7 separate regions of the Homo sapiens genome follow, and regions 1, 2, 3, 4, 5 and 7 are each linked to region 6. Evidence: promoter capture Hi-C in human tissues and cell types (Jung and others, 2019). All regions are on one chromosome and are shown on one strand. The core of a region is centred on a gene start or on the middle of the fragment in contact, and the rest is flanking DNA. Distances in the headings are between cores, read along the strand shown.

What was found. The method cuts DNA at HindIII sites, captures the fragments that hold promoters and counts their contacts. A contact is called where the count stands out against the background at its distance.
Region 1: a fragment that was not itself captured here is called in contact with the fragment with the promoter of TRIM13 in region 6 in 4 of the 25 tissues and cell types used here (dorsolateral prefrontal cortex, heart left ventricle, hippocampus and 1 more).
Region 2: a contact is called between a fragment that was not itself captured here and the fragment with the promoter of TRIM13 in region 6, in 2 of the 25 tissues and cell types used here (dorsolateral prefrontal cortex and heart right ventricle).
Region 3: a fragment that was not itself captured here is called in contact with the fragment with the promoter of TRIM13 in region 6 in 3 of the 25 tissues and cell types used here (lymphoblastoid cells, mesenchymal stem cells and spleen).
Region 4: a contact is called between a fragment that was not itself captured here and the fragment with the promoter of TRIM13 in region 6, in 3 of the 25 tissues and cell types used here (IMR-90 fibroblasts, lymphoblastoid cells and mesendoderm cells).
Region 5: a contact is called between a fragment that was not itself captured here and the fragment with the promoter of TRIM13 in region 6, in 1 of the 25 tissues and cell types used here (lymphoblastoid cells).
Region 7: a contact is called between a fragment that was not itself captured here and the fragment with the promoter of TRIM13 in region 6, in 2 of the 25 tissues and cell types used here (dorsolateral prefrontal cortex and lymphoblastoid cells).

Annotation. Positions count from the first base shown.
Region 1 is chr13:50,884,803-50,887,846 of GRCh38, reverse strand. All of the region lies in intron 2 of RNASEH2B-AS1 (RNASEH2B antisense RNA 1), which reads left to right. Among named protein-coding and RNA genes, the nearest start is that of RNASEH2B, 23 kb to the left of the region's middle. The HindIII fragment of the contact is 5,967 bases long and covers 1-3,044 here.
Region 2 is chr13:50,968,470-50,971,296 of GRCh38, reverse strand. It overlaps a transcript of RNASEH2B not described here. Among named protein-coding and RNA genes, the nearest start is that of RNASEH2B-AS1, 59 kb to the right of the region's middle. The HindIII fragment of the contact is 4,557 bases long and covers 1-2,827 here.
Region 3 is chr13:50,764,691-50,767,798 of GRCh38, reverse strand. It overlaps a transcript of DLEU7 not described here. Among named protein-coding and RNA genes, the nearest start is that of DLEU7-AS1, 42 kb to the left of the region's middle. The HindIII fragment of the contact is 4,034 bases long and covers 1-3,108 here.
Region 4 is chr13:50,785,931-50,788,918 of GRCh38, reverse strand. It overlaps a transcript of DLEU7 not described here. Among named protein-coding and RNA genes, the nearest start is that of DLEU7-AS1, 20 kb to the left of the region's middle. The HindIII fragment of the contact is 8,678 bases long and covers 1-2,988 here.
Region 5 is chr13:50,928,279-50,931,421 of GRCh38, reverse strand. RNASEH2B (ribonuclease H2 subunit B) reads right to left here. Exons shown (of 11, transcript NM_024570.4): 3 at 1,840-1,947; 4 at 663-739. Among named protein-coding and RNA genes, the nearest start is that of RNASEH2B-AS1, 19 kb to the right of the region's middle. The HindIII fragment of the contact is 4,324 bases long and covers 1-3,143 here.
Region 6 is chr13:49,995,307-49,998,388 of GRCh38, reverse strand. TRIM13 (tripartite motif containing 13) reads right to left here and starts at 1,347. Exons shown (of 2, transcript NM_213590.3): 1 at 626-1,347. DLEU2 (deleted in lymphocytic leukemia 2) reads left to right here. Exons shown (of 14, transcript NR_152566.1): 11 at 970-1,315. It overlaps MIR3613 (microRNA 3613), which reads left to right and starts at 1,888; the gene lies at 1,888-1,974. RefSeq lists silencers at 1,611-1,740, 2,331-2,380 and an enhancer at 1,921-2,050. The HindIII fragment of the contact is 11,924 bases long and covers 1-3,082 here.
Region 7 is chr13:50,952,011-50,954,995 of GRCh38, reverse strand. It overlaps RNASEH2B (ribonuclease H2 subunit B), which reads right to left. Exons shown (of 11, transcript NM_024570.4): 10 at 1,011-1,091. Among named protein-coding and RNA genes, the nearest start is that of RNASEH2B-AS1, 43 kb to the right of the region's middle. The HindIII fragment of the contact is 3,908 bases long and covers 1-2,985 here.

The DNA of each region.
Region 1 (3,044 bases), core at 90-2,589, 890 kb before region 6:
TCGCCATAGAATGTTAGACTCTTTTTATTAAAAAAAAAAAACTGATTATAAATATTTGCACATTTATAAGAGGAGTTTTCAGGAATTTGACAGGGCACACCTAGAACCACCGGGGTGGTGCTCAGGACCCACCAGGTACACCAAGGACCCACCAAGCACAGGTCCAGCCCCAGTTGTCCATCTTGCTTTATCTATTATTCACCTTTTTTGATGTCATATTGTTTTATCCATAATTAAGTCAGTAGTATATAAATCGAACAGATGAGCATTTTTAAAAACCACAAACCCACCATTCCATTATCATACCTGACAAAATTAACATTAATTCTATTATTTCACCTATTACGCAGTCCGTGTTCAAATGTCCCCAATTTTCTCAAATATATTTTACAGTCCTGTTGAAATCACAGAGTAAAGTCCACAAATTGCATTTGGTTGAAATGTCTCTTAGGTATTTTCTAATCTATGAAAGTTCCCACTTCCCCATTTTTAGCCGTTTTTTTGTTTGTTGAAGACATTGGTTCATTTGTCCTGTAGAACTTCCGGCATGCCAGATTTTGCTGATCGCATTCTCATTCAACCCATTAATCTAATAACTTGTTCCTTTGTATTTTTCATGAGCTTGCTGCCTGAGTGTGAAGCTTGCTTAGATTCAGATGCATTTATTTTGGCAAATACTCCATAGGTACTATCGCGTGTTTCCGATTGCATTCCATCAGGCGGCACATGAGGTCTCGTGGTCCCATTTTTAGTACTGTTAACACTGATCAAGGGTTAAGTGTTGTCATCTAATCTACCCTTTCACTAGTGTTTTCCTGAGCCTCTGACAGATGCTTCATTGAAAATGAGGTCTGGCGTGCCCATCCAGTGGAAGCATTTTGAGTTTTTTATTGATTCTTAAATGTCCTTTCTCATGGAAGCCTTCCATGTCATCCAATTAAAATGGCAACTCCTCACTCTCTATTGGCTTTCTCTGCTTTTTTCCTTCCTCCATGGAATGTATTAGTATTTCCATCTTCTATAAACACATTACTTATTTCCCCCAACCATTGTGTATGCTCCACAAAGACAAGGATTCTTTTTTTTTAATTAGTAGACTTTATTTTTTAGATCAGTTTTAATTTTAGAGAAAAATTGAGTAGAAAGTACATAGAGTTTCCTTAATGCCCTTTCCCATCTCACCCTAACCCCCCTAAATTTCCCTTGTTATTAATATCTTGCATTAGTGTGGTACATTTGCTACAACTGATGAACTGATCTTTATGCATTATTATTAACGTAAGTTTACTCTTTGTTTCGTACAGTCTTATGGGTTTTGGCAAATGTATAATGTCATGTATCCATATTACAGGATCACATAGGTGATCCTAAAAAATCCCCTGTGCTCCACCTATTCATCCCTCTTCCCTCCATCCCTGAACCACTGGCAACTTCTGATCTTTTCACTGTCTCTATAGTTTTGCCTTTTCTAGAATGTCTTACAGTTGGAATCATACAGCACGTTGTCTTTTCAGACAGGCTTCTTTCACTTAGCAATATGCCTTTAAATTTCCTCCACATCTTTTTGTGGCTTGACAGCTAATTTCTTTTCATTACCATATCATATTGTATTGTCTGGATATATCACAATTTAGTTATTCATTCACCTACTGAAGCCATCTTGGTTGCCTCTAAGTTTTGGTAATGATGAATAAAGCTGCTATAAACATTTGTGTGCAGGGTTTTTTGTGGACACACATTTTCAACTCATTTGGATAGACACCAAAGCGTGTAATTGCTGGATTGTATGGTAAGACTACGCTTAGCTTGTAAGAAACTGCTAGACTGTTTTCCAAAGTGGCTGTACCATTTTGCACTTCTACCAGCAATGAATAAGAGTTCCTGCTGCTCCACATCCTCACCACCTTTAGTGAAGTTTCTGTTTTGATCTTTTGCCCATTTTTAAGTTGCATCGTTTGCTTTCTTAATGCTGTTTTAAGAGTTCTCTTCATATTTTTGATATAAGTCCTTTATCAGATGTGTTTTGTAAATATTGTCTTCCACTCTGTGACTTGTCTTTTCATTCTTTTAACAGGGAAAGTAGAACTTTTTAAAAATCTGTTTTGTTTTCTGTCTTATCTCGAGTGCCTAGAACAGTGCCTAGTTTATAATAGCTGGTCAATCTAGTGAATGCTTGCTGAAAGTGGTCTATATGCCTTAGGTACAGCTAAGAACAAAGTTGACACTTGATTGTAAAAACTAAAGAGCTGATCCAATTGGAGGACTATTTCACTCTTCACAGAATTAAAGCTTTCATTGACCAACAGCTGTGATTTTATCAAAACATTCATAAAATTGAAAGTCTTTCTTCCAAATTGGAGGTAGTCTTAAAATAATCTAATTTATTTTACAGTTAAGACCCTGAGCCCTATTCACAGAATGTCAATCTCTGCTCTCCCAATGACCACTTAAGGCCTAACAGAATGACTCTCAAGTTCTTATTTCTCTGAGACATATTCTCTAATATTTTCTTTTAGGGTTAAATAATGAAGTATTCAGACATAGAAAAGTACAAAAATAATCACATATTCCTATCTTCACCGTATCATAATATTGAACTGATTTTTACATTTTGTCATGTTTGTTTTAACTCTCTCTTCTCCTCCCATCTTTCTTGGAATAAATATTAAAGGAATGGCTGAAGCCTCAGATACCTCATCCCTACCTCCGTCTCTACCTCCATTTTCCCTCATTAGTACCCATGATGGTGAAATTGATGTATAATTCCCATACAAGTGTTTGCAATTTTTAATGTATTTATATATACATAACTAGCGTATTGCTTTTTGTGTGTTTGTAAAATGACACAAATATTATATTAATACTAATCAGATCATTCTGGGTGGTAGACACTGTGGCATGGCCCACCAGATCTTCAGGACAAGGCACTTGCTCCCTCATTTGGAGATGTAAGCTTAGAATAGCTTCCAGTTGAATCTCTCACCAAGAATTCCCTTTGGCCATAAGCCTTGCCCAAAGTCACACACCCTCCCTACAAGCATCCA
Region 2 (2,827 bases), core at 181-2,680, 970 kb before region 6:
CTGAAGGAGAGCTCAATAGGATTGGATTCTTAGATGAAACGATGAAATGGATTGCATGAACAGTGACTGTAGGGCTGCTCGGGCTGCAAGGCAAAAGATAGAAACTGGAAGTGGGAAACTGGATAACTAAGAAACATGCTTGATTCAGGGTCAAGGATGCAGTCACCCAGGGGAGCCTGAGTAGTGCTGGCAGTGGGAGGTGGGGATCACTTCTGCCTTCTCTTTTTGTGAGAATGTATCATGAATTACTTGTGAAAAGAAAAAAAACAACCCAATGAAATCTTGTAATGTTAGGTGTTTGAATTTAAAGTGTTGGAACAGAAACTTGGGGCACAGGTAAGACAGCAGGGTTTCTAGTGACAAACTTGGACATTATCAATATCTAGTGGCTTTGGTTTTTGCAGAGGGAAGATTCACTTTTCCACTACAGAAGGGCAGGAATTTTTAAAGTCCTTTGAGGTTAACAAAAATTTCTACATGTGAAGGGAGGTGTGGAAAAGTGGCAGACTACTTCCCAGAACTAGGATCTAATTATTAATACTCCTTGTAGTCAGAGATTCAGAAACAAAATTATTTCCTGAAGAAGCAGATTGGGGTCCTGTGTGAATGCGGGAAGATCAGCTGAGCAGCACCCACACATTCCTCTTGCATGTCAAGTGGACAAGCCAGCTCAAATCCACAGACATTTTTGCACAAAACCTCCCACTACCTGCTAAAACATATGCACTACGCACCAGATTCCCCACCAAATCACTTTTTGGCATCTACTTCCAACCTTCCGTCATCTCCTATGTCCTTACTCTGAAAAATAAAATAATACACATACTGGACAAATCTTCTAAAAAGGAAGAAATGTTTAATAACTCCTGGAGAGATAAAATGCCAACGTTTAGGTATATTTATGAATTAGAAGCTTCCAAATTGATATGGAGTAAAGCAGTGTCAGATTTTTAAAGTAAGGGTTGAAACTTGGTTTGCCAAAGCTTTCAGGGTGAAATCAAGACAATCAAGTACTTTAAGTCACCACATCCATACCTAAAACATGCTGGCCTGACCCAAGCTTGAGGTCCTCAGACTGAACAGGTGCACCGCTGGGATGCTTTCAAGCTCCTGGACGGAACCGCCTAGCTGAGTGCTCCAGGGAGGAATGCCGCTGCCCACATAGACTAGTGGTACTAATCAAAGAAATAAAGCATTTACAGTCAGCGCTTTAAAATGCACCTTTTGGCACCTGGCGATTTTCCAAAAAAGTGCAGAAGAAAAAGTCCGAGTCCTCTGGGAGTGTCTGAAGTTGCAGGGAAAACCGCCAAGCCTTGCGTGGAGCCACCACCATCACTTGCCCCTTTTCTGTCTTTGTGCTGCCATCTAGAGAGGAAAGGAAAACATGTGGTGTGTCCTGGTGAGGAGAAACAGTCACCTGAAACCCCAAGCACCATCTGCAGCTCCTAGAACAGAACGCAGGGCTGGCGGGTTTAGTCCTGAGGGCAGCTGAGCATTTTCGCTTCTAAGAGATGACCTCAGACACAGGAAGGGGTTCCCATCGTGGCCAGCCTCCGAGATCTCATTCTAGGGTTCATAGCAGGCTCCTCGAGAGCACACCAAGAAGTATGTTTTTCTTTGAATGTTCAAAGGGAGTGAAATATAATGTTGGGGTGGCCCAAACTTACAGGATGGGCACCATCTTATAGGAAAAAAAATAAAATACAAGAAATGCACGAAAGTAACGTTCTGAGATGAGTAATTCTTAAACCATTTTTCTTTTTTTTTTTTTTTTGTAGAGGCAGTTCCTTTTATAAAAAGCAGGAAGCCTTGTGTAGACTCCAATGTATAAAAAATAGATAAGCATATACTTGTTGCTGATAGAAGTAGTAGCACCTAATGTCCCTGTGAAGAATGTACTGAACAAGTTTAATTACTACAAGTTGATTTTTTATTGAGTGCAAAGTTAAAAATAACGTATTCTGGAGCTATATGTTACAAAAAAAAACATGTACATGGAAATCAAACTTCTATGCCAGAATGTGGATGAGAAGGAAGCAAGGCCTTCCCTGACCACCCACTCCCCAGAATTCAGTGCCCTGCCTGGTCAGCTTTTTCCATAGGCCCTGGCACTATCTGAGATATCATCTGTCTACTCGCTCTAGAATGGAAATTCTTGAGGGCAGGTTATTTTTGCCTGCCATGTTGATATCCGCATTTCCTCTATCTACAACATGTCTAGCACACAGCAGGTGCTCAGTACATGCTCTTAAAGGAACAAATAAATCTAAGTTGATTCCTTAGCTTCTTTTGCTTGTTTATGCAAGAACAACATGTCTAACTTTAATTTTACAAGTATTCTGATTTCAAACACGTGTAAAGTAACAATTATTTTAAAGTCCATGAAGAAGCTCTGATTTCTCTGTAAATTTCATTTGGTGCCGTCCCCCATTTCAAATAGTCTTGATTAGCCTGAGACCATCAAAATAACATTTATTAATGAAAGTACAGTAAATGCTAAAACACTGACAGCTGAATTAAAGATTTGACATGCAAATGTACCAGCTAAGTAGAAGCTTTACTTAAATTCTGGCTTGCCATCGTTGAGGATAAATTGACCTGCAGAATTCATTATGAATAAAGCAAGAAGATGCAGCAGAATAAATGTGATTTTTTTCCTTTCTTAAAATAAAATTTGCAATTAAAACAGATTATTTAAGGCTAAATGGTCATATAATGGTATGAATAGGAACCTTGGGTAAACAAAAGGAACGAGGCTTAGGCTTGGCATCTGGGCTTGGCCACCTACTGTCTGTATGACCTCACACAGACCATCAATAAAATAAGG
Region 3 (3,108 bases), core at 389-2,888, 770 kb before region 6:
AGGGGTGTCTCCTGGAGCTTTCTGTGTGTATGCTGGTCCTGGTCTTACTTCCAGGTTTCCGGCTGCCTTGAGTCTATGCTAGGGGACACTGGAGGAAAAGTGGGAAGCTCACCACCTATTTGGTGATGCCTTGAATTCTGGTCCTATTTTCCAACTTCCAGAGTCCTACAATAGCTGTCCCAGGTGCTAGAGCTCCACTGGGGAAGACAGACAGGGTTCAGTATGCTTCTCCCTCTTGAACCATGGTCCCATGAACTAAGTCTTGAGCATGGTAAGCCTGAGCTTACCATGAACATCCAGGTGGAAATGCATGTCTGGAGTTTTTTTTTTTTTTTTTTTTTTTGAGACGGAGTCTCGCTCTGTCGCCCAGGCTGGAGTGCAGTGGCGCGATCTCGGCTCACTGCAAGCTCCGCCTCCCGGGTTCACGCCATTCTCCTGCCTCAGCCTCCCGCGTAGCTGGGACTACAGGCGCCCGCCACCACGCCCGGCTAATTTTTTGTATTTTTTAGTAGAGTCGGGGTTTCACTGTGTTAGCCAGGATGGTCTCGATCTCCTGACCTCATGATCTGCCCGCCTCGGCCTCCCAAAGTGCTGGGATTACAGGCGTGAGCCACCGCGCCCGGCCACGTCTGGAGTTTTGAAACAAGCTCTGGGCTAGAAATAAACATTTCAGCCTTCAATGTATAGATGTTGTTCTCATTTACAGAAGTGGATGAAAGCCATCAGGGATAGTGTGTAGGATAACAGAAATGGACTGTGAATAGAACCCTGGAAACTAGCAACGTCTAAGTAGTGGGCAAAGGAAAAGGAGCCAATGATGAGGGTTCAGACAGGCAGGAGAAAAACCAGGACACAGACCCAGGGGAGACAAGTCTCCACTCCAGCTGTCTTCTGGCTGTGCACACCAGTGTTGCTCTGTGTGTTTGGCCAGCATTTCCCAGGGTTCTGTATGTACAGCACCTGTATCAGAATCACTGGCAGGGGTGGGGCGTGGGGGGTGGGATGTCAAGTGTGTCGAGTCTTAGGCCATGCTCCAAACTTCTTTAATTATAGGCATAAGCAGTGGGGCCTGCCTGCCTGAGTTTAAACTGGCTGTGCAGGGATTTCTCATGAACAGTTGGAAAGCCAATTCCCTAGGCCTAGGGAATGTAGGGACTCCTGAGCCTGTCACCAGCATAAAGAGAAGGTGCTGAACAGAGGGAAAAGTAAGAGAAGAGGAGGAGAAAGGAGTGATGATGAGGGAAAGAGAGAGATTCCCGAAGTTTGGTAAGTGGTGTGGAAGGAGAAAGAAGAGGAAGGGGAGATTAAGAGGAGGAGTAGGAAGAGAAGGAAGACAAGGAAAGAGACCATTTATTCTCTTATTCTCATTATTTCAAAGCAGACATACTAGGAGTAGCTGAATCTTGGGTTCATCTTCCATGTTTGCAGTCTGCTAAGAGCCCAGCACGAGCCTGCAGGGCTCCAGGCTGGGTGAGGAGACAAGGAGACGGGTGGAGTGCAGCCGCTGCAGCTGTGCTGAACATGATGCCGAACGTGATGGGAGTGAGCAATTTGGGCTGACAGTATCCTTCTTTAAACAGCATCCAATGCTCAGTGAGCCCTGTTGCTTTTACATGACTTAATCAACATAGGTTAATTGGTACATTTTGTGCCAAATCCAGTAGTCATGTTTTATGCTGTGTTGCTCTAGCCAGACAACATCTGTTTGGAAGGGGAATGAAACTTGCTGAGGCAAAGCTACACGCATCCTTTTCTCTCCACCCCACCCCCAACCCTCCTACTAAAGAGTACATTTAAGAAATCTTCTGAAAAAGTCCAAAAGCTAATGTCAAGTAGAAACCACATTAGATGAAATGGGAATTCATCACTAAAAGTGCTTAGAGAAAAAGCATTTGACCCCTTTTGAGCCTCCAAATAATCCACGCAATGCAAGTTTTCTTGGCCTTCACTTGCTGTCTTCTCAACCTTGGTTCTTCCCTGTTGAGTGCCTCCACAACAATGGCCATGTCTCCTTCATCTTCATATTGCTGGCTCCCAGTACAGTGCCTGGCACATGTGAGGGGTTCAAAACTTTTGCTGAACTAAGCTTAACTTTCATTCTAGTGTCATTTTAACATATCTGTGTTCTCGGTGTCTTCTACATTTCTTCTTTCCTCCTTCACATTTCTCCTGGTCTTCTTCCTTTCTATCTGTTTATTTTATTCTCTTCTTTGCCCTTTCTGTCTTTTACTCTTCTCTCCCCCAGGGCCTGATTATTGCCAGAAGAGGACCAAGTTGGGAACCAGAATGTGGAGAAAACAAATTCTTCCAGCCTCTTCCAAACTTCCTTCCCTCCTCTTCTTTCTCCTTCCTCCTCTTCTTTCTCCTTCCTCCTCATTTTCTCTTCCCTTGTCTTCTTCCATTTATCTTCCTTTTTCCTTCCCCTGTCTGCACCCTTCAGGCTTCGCTTTCTAAAGTCCTCCATGTAGAAACATCTTATTAATGTGAAGGATGCAGTGCTATTTGAGTCATTGGAGTAAAAGCCATTTTTCATTTCCTAATAATACCCTGTCTTTAGTGATTCTTAATTTTGAATAAATTCTCCTCTACATCACAAACACAAATTCATTCTAAGGTGCAACATGGCAGTGGCTCATGCCTGTAATCTCAGCACTTTGGGAGGCTGAGATAGGTGGATCACCTGAGGTCAGGAGTTAGAGACCAGCCTGGCCAACAAGGTGAAACCCTGTTTCTACTAAAGATACAAAAATTTACCAGGCATGATGGTGCGTGCCTGTAATCCCAGCTACTTTGGAGGCTGTGGCAGAAGAATTGCTTGAACACAGGATGCAGAAGTTGCAGTGAGCCGAGATTGCCCCACTGCACTCCAGCCTGGGCAACAGAGTGAGACTCTGTCTCAAACAAAACAAAACAAAACAAAACAAACCCAAAAAAGGTGCAACATGACCCATTTAATATACTTCATTCTTCAGTATTCTTAATTAGTGAACACTCTAACTTTATGGATAATTGTTATATCTTCATCAGCATTTCATGGACTATCTGATGGAGTGAACACTCAAGGGATTTGACTCAAGTTCCCTGAACAAGCTAAATGGAATAGTACAC
Region 4 (2,988 bases), core at 486-2,985, 790 kb before region 6:
TGGGTTTACAGCTGAAAATAAAATGCAGTTGGTGTGGTGGCTACTTTCACAGTCCCAGGGGTGTGAGGGTGAAAGGGTGTCCGTGAGGATGCCAGCTTTTGCTCCCCGCTCCCAAACATCACTCACTGTTATGATGAAGTCTTAACCTAGCATCTCTCATCATTTCTGTGGGAGGGATTTTCCTATGAATCACTTCCACATTTGAACATCCCAGGCGAGGGCCCTTGATGCTATTTTCCTCTCAGGAAATATTTATTCCCTTGTAATATTTTCATTTCTTGGCTCCTTGAAGAGTGATAGAGTCTCACTCTGCTTGTCACTCTAGGACACAGAGGACAGAGTGGTTGCTCTGTGTTCTTTCTGAAGCCCTGGAGTTGGAGATGTAGGCAGCCATTGATGGAGGCTCAGTATTTAGAGTGTCCTCGACAATGAGGTTCTTTCTGCTAAGTGCCAGGAATTGTTCTTTTGACTTCAACCTTTTCTTTCACAGCCTTGGTATTATTCGTCAGTGTTTTCACACACACGCACAGGAGGGTCTGGGGGAATGTGTTGGGAGATGTCACAGGCCAGCCCAGAACTGGTGCCCACATTTCCACCCCCTCTCTAAGAGGAGGCTGAGGAATGTGGTCCAGCCATGAGCCCTGAGAGGTGAGGAGATTGGTTTGCTGGGTGTCTAGCCAGGCTCCAACCAGGATAAGTGTTGGAATAAGGCAAGAGAGTTGGTTAAGAGAATACTTACAAGGCTGGGGACAGAGCCTGCACACAGCTAGAGACTGAGAAATGCGAGGTCCGGTGGAACTCAGCCCCTGCCCTCAGGAGTCACAGTTGAGAGATAGAGATGCTATCAGATTATCTAACTGTGGGAGAATCCTATGGTGCTGGGGAAACGCCTGCTGTGCCACGAACAGAGCTGTGAGAGTGGAAAGGAGGGAAATGTAGGCTACTGGCTTGGGCTTAGGGGAGGTTTCACAGCAGAGGATCCATCAGAGTGAGTCAGAGAGGAGTGAATATGGGTTTGTGAAGAGGAGACGTGGACAATGGGTATGAGCAGAGGGAAGGCGCTGAGCTGGGTGGTCCAACATGAGTGGAGAGTGAGGCCACAGAGTCCATCGGGGAGATGGGGGTGGAACTGGTCTGTGGGGATAGATGGCAGGGAGTCTTGGGTGCTGCTATGTAGGTAGTAGGTCATTGTTAAAGGTGGGGGGGAGGGCAGGGGAATGACATGATTGGATCCATGTTTTAGGCAGTAGGTCTGGTGACCAGTGGAGAATGAATGGAAAGTAGGAACAGCAGGGGGCAGGGAGCTCAGTGAGGAAGCTGTTTCCACACCTGGGGCAAGAGGTGTCAGCAAAGATGCAAGGATGGCAAGTGGGAGGTGGTTCAGGTGACTTCTGCAGGGATTTGATATGGCCAGTGAGGGGTGCCGCCCTTTGATTTGCTCCATCTTTGCTATCTCCCTGCCCCCAACACATGCTGGTGTTCCATTTCCCTTTGAGAGTCATGGGATATGAAACCCCAAATGCTACTTTAAATGTTAGTAATTACAACAGAGAATGCAGACAATGTTATTCATTTCTCTTCTGATTTAACAGTGGGAGGTCCCTGTTGATTGGAGAAGTAATGCTAACAGTAACATTTCTGAGCTTTGTGTTTTAAATCCCCTCCTGGGCATTATTAAGCAGGCCTGACCTCACCAGGAAAACTCATAGTCAGTACAGCATTTACTAAGTAAACGCCAGGCACTGTTTTAAGGACTTTTTGTTATGTTAACCCATTTTATCCTCATAATAAGGAAGGTGATGCCAGAAAAATTATCCAAAACTTGAAACGAAGGCTAAAAGGTGAGAGACATGTTCTTTCAATATCATAGGAGAGAAAAGGCCACTCAAGGATTTTCTTGAATAATGTCCTTGATTTACCTCATCACTCAACTTTGATTAAAGTTCCAAGGCTTAAGGAAGTCACTTGTTAATTTGAAGACTTTGGTCCAGCAGATTTACAAATAATTTATCATCAGGGAAACCGAGAACCTCAGTGATTTATGGCATGTTGGACATTACCCAGATTATATCTAACCTGGCAATCTTATCCTAATATTTCTCTGTTAAATTTTCTGTAAATATCCTTACTCCTCAGATGCCCTTTGAGGGTCATAACATTCATTTTTAACTCACACAAAGAGTTAAAAAATAAAGGATTTTATGTTTTCTAAAAATTCCATTTTGAAAATTATCATTTGCACAGAGAAATTATGGGGTTTGCCCAAGGACAGAGAGATTCAGTTGGTAAAGCTGGGATTCTCACTCAGGAAGTCTGGTTCCAGGGAAGTCCTGTATTTACCCACCATGTATTAGTGAGCAATTTTCTCCATTCTTAACTGTTCTGGATTTCTCTTCCTGCTGAATCCTACGAGTATTTATTTCATTTAACAAATATGCACTGAGCTGCTACTATGTGGCAGGTTCTGGATTAACCTACATGGTAAATTGTATTAATGTTGTATAGTACACGTATACAAATTAGCTCTTATCTATGTGTTCAGGAACTAAAAAACAAAACAAAACAACCAAAAACCAGGCAAGGAAACTTCTGGGCAATTACATAATTTGCTGTGTCATTTCTTTAGAGTCTTGTGATTATCTATGAATATGGCATATGGTGAACCAAGTGTATTTGCCACACAGGTAGAGAGAGAAACCAGAATGGGTAAAAATCAGGCTCTTTGATGATGGGGTTCAGGCCCATGTAAAGTCCAAGAGTTAGGTATTTTCTAGAACCTTGAACCCATCAAAGTCTTATTAGTAAAACCACACAAGCAAAATGATGTCACACGAAAGTCTCCTTCTGCCAAATCTCTGCCACCATGATCTGCTTCAAAACGATGGCTGCCTGGAGTTTCTCCACCTAATTTTCATCTTAATGCTGGTCCTTTATGCTAGAGTCTGTTCAAGCAATTATGAGTAGTGGTTTCCTTCTATTCTGGCGGCC
Region 5 (3,143 bases), core at 378-2,877, 930 kb before region 6:
AATAATTTTTAAATCTCTCAGTTTTAATTTCTAAGAGTATTGCTAGAACCCACAGAAACATAAGCTCTTTGGAACCCTTAATAATTTTAATTGTAAATGTATCCTGAGACCAAAATATTACAGAACTTCTGGCTAAAATTATTACTATTAGTAAGCTGTGTCTTTATTTCTATTCCAAAGGTAAATTTTATCCATCTGGGATTCCTTAAGTCTCAACTAGCACATCACCATTAATGAGCTTCTATTGGACCCGCTCCAGTTTACCTATTCCACAGTCTCTCACTAAAGAAGAGACTCTTTAAGACATGTGGTCAATTTTTAAATACCTGTTTTGTATTTCAAGTGTAAGGAATACTTAATGATAAAGGAGTGTTAGCTGTCAGGCTTTGTCAAGCAGTAAGGTGCACAGCACAGTGAGTCAGGCAAGTCAGAGGTCACAAGCAAGCCAGGGTCAGACTGGATCAAGAGTAAGGTGCTGCTTCTCTGGCCTGTGCAGTAGTGCTCTGTCCTGCACTGGCCCATATGATTCATGTTTTCTCTAGTCACTATAATAGATCTGAAGGTAGAATCCACCTTTGGATCATTAAAAGGAGAGAGAGGAGATCAAACAAAAATAGTTGATTCTGTTTCCTCACTGTGGATGCTCCGAGCTGGAAACTCACCTCCTTATCAGCCTTTATGAGGTAGTGGAGAAGCAGAAATAGAGGATCCACAGGTGTGGCAAAATGGAGAAGACCTCCTGCAGATTACAAAAAGGATGAAGGGAATTAAACGTCTTGGAAAGACAATGTGGCTATTTCACCTTAATCTCAAAGTGAAAAACAGTGTTGAAAAATATATGTGAAATTCCAAATTCAAATCTCTTCTTATACAGGCCTCAGAGTCTATGTGATTCTCTCAAAAGGCAGAATGTGCTCTATGAGATTTTACTCCAAAGAGCTTCAAATCCCTGTGTGGAGAGGAGAACCAAGACCCTGAAATTGATCTTTAACTTTCCATTTCTTCTTTAGAAATCATTTTTAACACAGCCTCCCAACCCCCTGAAAAACGAGGGGTTAGGAGGAAGCACAGACAGAATGAGAAGACGGCAATGTTAGGGAACCTGTATCGTCAGTCTATCTATAAAGCTGCAGTAAAATGTAATTTCCTGTGCTTTTGAGGACAAAGCCATGGGAAAGCAGTGCCATTCTCTCTATACACAGTCCCTTCCGTGGTCTGTGGGCAGGGGGATGTAGGATTCTTTGAATAGCCACTGACTGCCCCCACCCCAGAACATGAGGCAGAACAGTTCCGTTGGCCTACTCTTCCTTTAGTCAGCACTGCCCCCAAATTAAGGGAACACCACAAGAAACAGAACTTTGGTGCTGGGGGGTGTATGTGTGTATGGGGGTGGGGGAGCAGGTGGGCAGGCAGGTATATGACAAAGCATTTTAAAGAAACTTTGTTATGCTCTAGCCTATGTTAGAAGCCATATCAGTATCCAGTTTCAAGGAAATAACATGTTAAAAACACAAAGATCCTCAAAAGAGTTTCTAATCAACACAATATGTGCCCCATGTACAAATCTAACTTCTAACTCAGGATGTGTCACTGTTTTAGGAGACAAATCAGAGTTGCTAGTTTAAAACTTCCTACCGTCTAAGACACACAGGAGATGACTTAACCTTAGTGCTCAAATGATCTTTCCTTTCTCCTTGATTAAACCTGCTCTCATGCCAAGGAAGGCTAAACCAGTGACCAGACTCCAAACCCGGTGACAGACCCACAACCCCACGTGTGAAGAATGGAAAAGCTGGAGTATGTGTTTAGTTATTGGAAATGCTTACACTAGTCACCTACCTGATTGAACTGATTGATTTATAAACCAAGAATGGTGTTTTTCCTTGAAAACTTTTACTTCAAACAGCTGCTGTAGACACATATTGAACAAGTAAATGGCTCCTTCTCCTGTTAAGACAAATCTGTCTTTTATTTGTAAGTTTTCACACACACACACAAACACACACACACCCCAAAAGACTATCCAGTATCTCTGACGAATGTTCCTAATATGAACATAAACATACACAGGTCTATTCTAAAAAACTGATTCCAAGGAAAGCTTACAGCTATTATACATAGATGGTAGTTTTCCAGCTCCATAATCCTCACTGGACTTAAACCAAAAAATTAGAAAGTGCAAGTCATTTATCTTAACTAATACAAAGCCTGTCCTTAAATCCTCCATCAGATCAAGAGGGAATATCCATTCCTAAACTATCAAAACACAACAGTTCAGCCATATGACATGAGCTGGCACGTGGGTCCCTGCCTCTGGGCAGTGTGTGGCTCTCCCCACACAGGGTCTGACAGGGACCAAGCCACAGGCCAACCCTAAGTGAGAAAGACAGACATGCTTGAAGCCATAGGGAGTGAGTAAAGCTTTATTCAACTGAATGAATTTTTTTTCCTTTCCTTTCTTAACCAAAAAAAAAAAAAAAAAAAAAAAAGGGAGGAGGCACAAGAGGGTGAAGACTGTGCACATCTGCATGTTTTATCACTTCAACTAATGAAAAAAAAATTTTTTTTTTAACCACAGCACAATCTCTGGAGACAAGGATGCTGACTTTAACTCTATCTCCACCATATGCTGGGCACGTGCCCTTGGAGAAGTTACATAAACCTTCCTGTGGCTGTTTCCACATCTGTAAAATGGAGACAATACTGAACCTCCTCAAGGGTTTTTATAAGAATTAAAAAAAAGAACACATGTAAATTTCCTAAACCAATACTTGGCACATAGTAAGAACTCAGCAAATGTTAGCCTTTACTTTCCCACTGCCAATGTAGCAAATAAAAACATTTGTTCCTCTGTTGTCTATGAGCATTTAGATAAAACAGAAATTTTAAAAGAGGGCTGGCTTTCTTCTGTACCTGTACTTTTCTTAAATGCTTTAGAACCTTTACTGCTACCTAAAACTTCTCTTGAAGAAATATTTCTCACGTCAACTTAGTCTGATATATAACTAAGATTTCTAAATATAGCTGACCAATTACAGTCAATTTCATTTTGAAGAAAAGAACACTGGAGAAAGTCAGGAATGTGTTTCTTCTCTTGTTGCTTCTATTTACATGTCTCTATAACAACAAGGCACTACTCAGTG
Region 6 (3,082 bases), core at 98-2,597:
GAAAATGAGCATATCTGAACAAAAGCTGTGACAGAATTAAGGCCAGATAACCTATCATAAATGTATAGAATGAACAGAACAGCCCGGTTTTAGGAAAGGACTTCCCAGGGAGGTTTAGTAAGCCAGCTGGGAGAAAGGAAAAAAAACGTATTTTTAGGGAGGGATAGGGACGCTCCCATTGTGCAAGAAGGAAGTATAGCCGGTTAACAGCTCCATCAAGTTCTACTAGAAGGAGTGCCTATGTAAATGAAATTCTGCTTTTAAAGTGCCTATTATATAAAGGTCTCTAGAAAACTCAAGCCCTGTTCTACAAGCCCTAGCAGCCTGACAATTCACTAAGCATAGGAGAAGGGAAAAAAAAGTAGGAAAAAAGTGTGGAAGCCCCTTTCTTCCTTTGTAATATGAATGTTTGGCTATATTTAAGATAAATACCACATAAATAATTGCTAAACGTGAATTCTGTTTTTCTAAGTTTTAACAAAATATGCAAAGAACAAAGACCACCAATGAAAGTGGATGGGAACATACGTATTCTACACACAGTTCCATTTTGGAAGGTTCTAGGGCCTATTGAAATTGGGTGTTTAAAAAAAAAAGATAACACAGGAAAATTATTGTAGTTTACCTCTGTCTCCTACAAGCTGATGTATTTGGCAGGGTTACTATTTCCCAGGGCAAAGCAGGTCTTTTTTTTCACGTTTTGACTAACGAACTAGAGGCTACTGCAAAGAAAGAAGAAAAAGAACAGTATTAACGCATTTATTTGCACAGCACCCCAATCTTGACCCTCAATTTTTTCAATCGCCCCCACAAATAAAGCCCGGCTGTTTAGACCTGGTGAACCGCCAGGAGCCTGGAGCTCTTTGTATTAAGCAGCTTCTCGGTTAGGGCGCCCTCCCCCGGCGCCATGCAACCAAACGCTGGCGGCGCGCTGTAACCTAAGGCCCACACCCGTCTTTTCTTTTCTAGGGGATGTGGAGACGCTGGTAGCGGGGCCAGGAAGGCTCCGGACGGAGCAGGTTTTCTGGACCACAGACACACTGCCCCGGCGCCCTCCGCAGGCCGCTCCTCCCCAGGCCCATGACAGTGCCCCGCTGGTTTCTGCCGCGCTGCCGGACTGGAGCTCAGACGGCCTTCGCCAGCCCCCCCAACCCACGCAGATCCCTGCTGACCTGGGCAACTCCCCACCCTCGCTGAAGGTTCGAGGACCACCCCGCTTTCCCGAGAGGAGCCGGGCGGCGGGTACTTATCTCCGACCTCCGGCTAGTGGGAAAGGCCGCGCGACCGCCCGTCCTCCAACTACAGGGACCGCACGGTACGCGCCAAGCACAGCCCCAAAATGGACTCGCGGCTCCGGCTAGCTCCGCCCCCTTCCCTCTCCCGCTTCCCCTTCCCCTCCCGTCCCTTCCCCCTCCCCTCCCGTCCCTTCCCCCTCCCCTCCCGTCCCTTCCCCCCTCCCCCTCCCTTTCCCCTCCCCCTCCCCCTCCCTTTCCCCTCCCCCTCCCCCTCCCTTCCCCGTCGCCCGCCTCCGCCTGCACCTCCGGCCCCGCCTCCCCGTCCCGCTTCGCCTGTGTCCCGCCTCCCCGGCCGCGCCTCGCCTTGGCGGAGGGAGCCGGGTGGTGAGACCGCGTTCCTTCCGGCGTCTCCAACCGCCGCCTGCTCCCGCCGTCCACCCGCGCGGGCCGCCTGGGACGGGGAGGGCCGGGCTGCGGGCTTTTCTCCCTTCCAGAGTCCTGCGCCCGCCCAAAGCCCCCCCGCAGAGGCTGGGCAGCGGCTCCGGGAAGTGGACGCCGTTTGCCCAGACGGTGGGCTCGACTGAAGCGGCGCGGTCCCGGGTGGGGCCGCCCGGGAAGAAAGTCTCCCAGTTAAGCTGCCGTGCAATTAAGATGGTTGGGTTTGGATTGTTGTACTTTTTTTTTTGTTCGTTGCATTTTTAGGAACAAAAAAAAAAGCCCAACCCTTCACACCACTTCATCCGCATCTCAAGACCAGAAGCCGACCCCAGCGGCTTGGGGAAATGGAGCCCCGCACCCCACAAGGGGGAGGGTGGGACGGGCACCTCCGCACTGCGCGGCCTGCGGAGTCACCGATTCGCGTTGGGAGCGCGCCAGGAGCGCCAGGGCTCTAGCCGGGGGCTCCGGGCAAGGCGCAACCAGAAAAGGGTTCAGTATCCCCCATCACCCCCACCCCCAACCGTACCCTCTTTCTTTGCGGGCTTTAGGCAGGACACCAGAGACCCAATTCTATTTAAAATTCTCTTTTAAGAAAAGGAACGCCTGTTTTTGCCTTTGGGGGAAAGGATGAACTTTCAAATTGGCTTTAAATTATCCACCACTAACAGTTACTCAGTCGATAACCTGACTATTCTGACGTCCACCTCCCGTTTGAGGACCTTGCCCAATAGCAAACGTACTAAGCACTTAACCAGTGAACGGTGTGAAGGATGCAAACATGGATGATGAAGGAATGGCTCCTCCAGAATTTACGATCTTGGGAGAAGTGAGGCGAGTATAGAATCTCAGAACACGCTGTAGGATTGAGTTCGATCCCAGTTGAGGAAGTTTGGGTTTGGGGAGGAAATAGGTTATTTTGGAGAAACGGTATTCAAAACCTACCATAAATAGCAGTACAGCCCGTTGACTAATAATGCTTAGCCCAACCCCCGTAAAAAGCCCCTGGCCACATCCGTCTCCTGAGATTCCCACTTCTCTGTGTGCATCTCCCTTCCTGCTATAAGAAACCTAACTTTGCCTTCGTAGAACACTTCTTTTAATTTCTGTCATTCAGTCTCATAACACTGTGTAAAAGAAATTATGATCTTCATCCTATATAGATGAGAAAACAGGTGAAGTGACTTTTCCAAGGTACAAAAGCAAGAGGCAGAGCTGAGGCTAAAGGCAGCTTCCAGATATGGGCTCTTTCTACAGCACCATAACTGTCAGTGACAAAACTGCACCCCAGTACCTTACTAAATTTAGTGTTTTTAGGCCAGGCACGGTGGCTCACGCCTGTAATCCCAGCACTTTGGGAGGTCGAGGCGGGCAGATCACCTGAGGTCAGGAGTTCCAGACCGGACTGACCA
Region 7 (2,985 bases), core at 279-2,778, 960 kb before region 6:
CTATCTCAACATAAAAACAGGCAAGCGACAGGAACCAACAATTTGCAAAAATGCAAATGGGCCATAAGCATTTGGAAAAAGAACCTTTCTAGTTAAAGAAATGTAGCCTAATTTGACAGGCAACAATGTTCAAGAATAAAAGCAATACTCAATGTCGTCAAAAATGCAAGATAAATACTCATTGGCAATAATGTTTGGAAGCACAACTTTCTCCATTTTTGAAAAGCACTTTAGCTATATATATTTCAATTATGAAAGAATTCATGTTCTCCAAGCTCTTAGTCTTAGTTCAAAATTGTGTCTAATGAAATGATTGGAGATACAGACTGTAAATAAGAATGTCTATCACTTCAATAAAAACAAAAAATAAAAAAATCAGAAGTAACCTATATGTCCAAATATAGGGAAATGATTAAATTACATTCCATATGGTGAAACAAACACCCATGACTGAATATCATAAAAACATGAATATTTTTTCAAAGAATGTTTAATGATATGTGAACATTTTCACAATTTAATGTTAAATAAAAAGCCCAGAACTGAGTATTATAATGCCAATGTTAAAGGCCACATATGTATTTATAATGCATGTATAAAACTAAGTAAGGACTGTTACCAAAATGCCATTTGCCAGGGTGAATGCTGAATGGTGAAATTATTAATTTTTATCATCATAATTTCTGCTTCTGGGCAGCAGGGTTGACAAAAAATTACCTGTAGAGCTTCCTCCCTCCTTTCCCACCCTATCACTCTATGAATACATAGCAAAATTTAGGCACACTCTTGATAAGTAGTATATTGTTTTTCTCTGACTAATAATAAGTCTTAGTTGCTTAACATTTTCATTGTCATATGCAATTCTTAATTATTAAGTCACAGAAATGCAAGTTAATAATTCTTCCTGGTCAAAACTGTAATCACAATCAAGCGTGCAACTGTTCCTCATGTATTCATGCACATCACGCACTGAGTATGAACGAAACACCACTACACCTGAACCCACATACCTTTTCAGTCTTCAAATCTTTAGTATTAAACTTAGTGTAATCTTCTTTTGCTTCTACAGGCTCATCTGATAACTTTATTTTCTGCAACATTAGAGCAGTGAAGTGGTGTCAAATGTCACTTTGACACAACATCAATCCATTAAAAAAAAACCCAACATGTATAATTTAGACCTCTACAGAGGCGAATGGGACAGCAGACCCAGCAAAGGGCTTACTTTTTACAGGCTCCTTTACATTTTGCCAATCATCTAGGGAATTGAGCCACACATCACTCCTAAGAAGCAGCCTTGGTGATGGTGGATATGATTGGGTAAGTACATGGCTGAGCCCCTTAGCTGGTCCAGCAAACACAGGCTTTGTAGGTGCCAGGTGTGGTGGGCATGAGGGGATTGCTAATTACCAGATGAATGCAAGGCACAGAAGTCAAAATGAGAATAGTCTCTTGAAGGGGGCCAGGTGTCCAGCCAGAATCCCTATTTCATTTACCTCCTGGGCCAGTTTAATGTCCACTTATGAATGAAGGGACAATATTTATCTTACTTTATCCATGCAAGAACAACCTTGCACAAGCAAGCAGCCAGTAAGAGAGGGAAGCACAGAGAGGCTAAATGAATAGCTTAAGGTCACCAAGTAGAGGACTTTGGCCAAGATTTCAATTCTGATACAGTGTTCTTTCCATTAGGCCCAATGCAACTAAGTCAGACCTTTACTTAATATTTTCTCCTTTCACATGAACATTTTACACCAGTGAATGTGAGAATCTTGTCAAGGCCTTAATGATCACAATATAGAAGAAATCATGCCACACTTATTATGTAAAAGGTACAAAAGCAGGGAAGACAAGTCTTGCTGTTGAACATGGAGAATTGACTGCATGGTGATCACAACCCAGATTTTTATAATTTTCAGGCTGTTTATGGAGACACCAGGTTGACCAGACCCAACATGGATCTAACCTAGGAAACAGACTTCTTCCCAGCTTCATTCTTCATGCCCCTGCTTTGCTAAACAAAGAACGGGTAGAGTTGGTGCTAAAAGATTCCACAGCCCATGGTGTTTTATCCCATAACCCAAGAGGATAAAACACCATGTCTTAAAATTGTTTGCTGTAAAAAAACAGAGGCTCATCCTGGGAATATACCACACACTATAGGAAAACCTCTTGGCCACACAGCAACCTCTAGCAAATGAATCATTAAAAGAAAAAGACTAATCCATCACAAATGAACCACCTATCAGCACCAAGTGAATGTATATTTGCAACTTTGTTAAGAATATATGTTTCAGCTTGGTGCAGTGACTCATGCCTGTAATCCCAGCACTTTGGGAGGCCGAGGTGGGCGGTCACTTGAGGCCAGGAGTTGGAGATCAGCCTGGCCAACATGGCAAAACCCCATCTCTAATAAAAATATAAAAATTAGCTGCGCATGGTGGCATGTGCCTGTAGTCCCAGCTACTCCGGAGACTGAGGCACAAGAATTGCTTGAACCTGAGAAGCAGAGACTGCAGTAAGCTGAGATTGTGCCACTGCACTCCAGCCTAGATGACACGGCAAGACTCTGTCTCAAAAAAAAAAATACATGTTTCTATTTAAATTAAGACAGCAAAGGGTGTTTAGGTGATGCACATTTTTTACTAGAAAGGTATCTTCAGCTAGGAGGGTGAAACTCACAGCTAATAATGCTGAAGGCCAAAATATTTTCAAAACACAAAAAGCTTGAAGTTATGAGGATGCTTGTGTTCCTTCTCTATGGCAAAATGTTCCTAACACAGATGTCATTATAAACACTTAGACATTATTCCCTTTTTTTCTTTAGAGACAGGGTTTCACTGTGTTGCCCAGGCTGGAGTGCGGTGGCTATTCATAGTTGCGATCATCATATACTACAGCCTTGAACTCCTGGGCTCAAGCGACCTTCTGCCTTAGCCTCCTGAGTAGCTAAGACTACAAGTGTGTGCCACTGAACTGATGAGG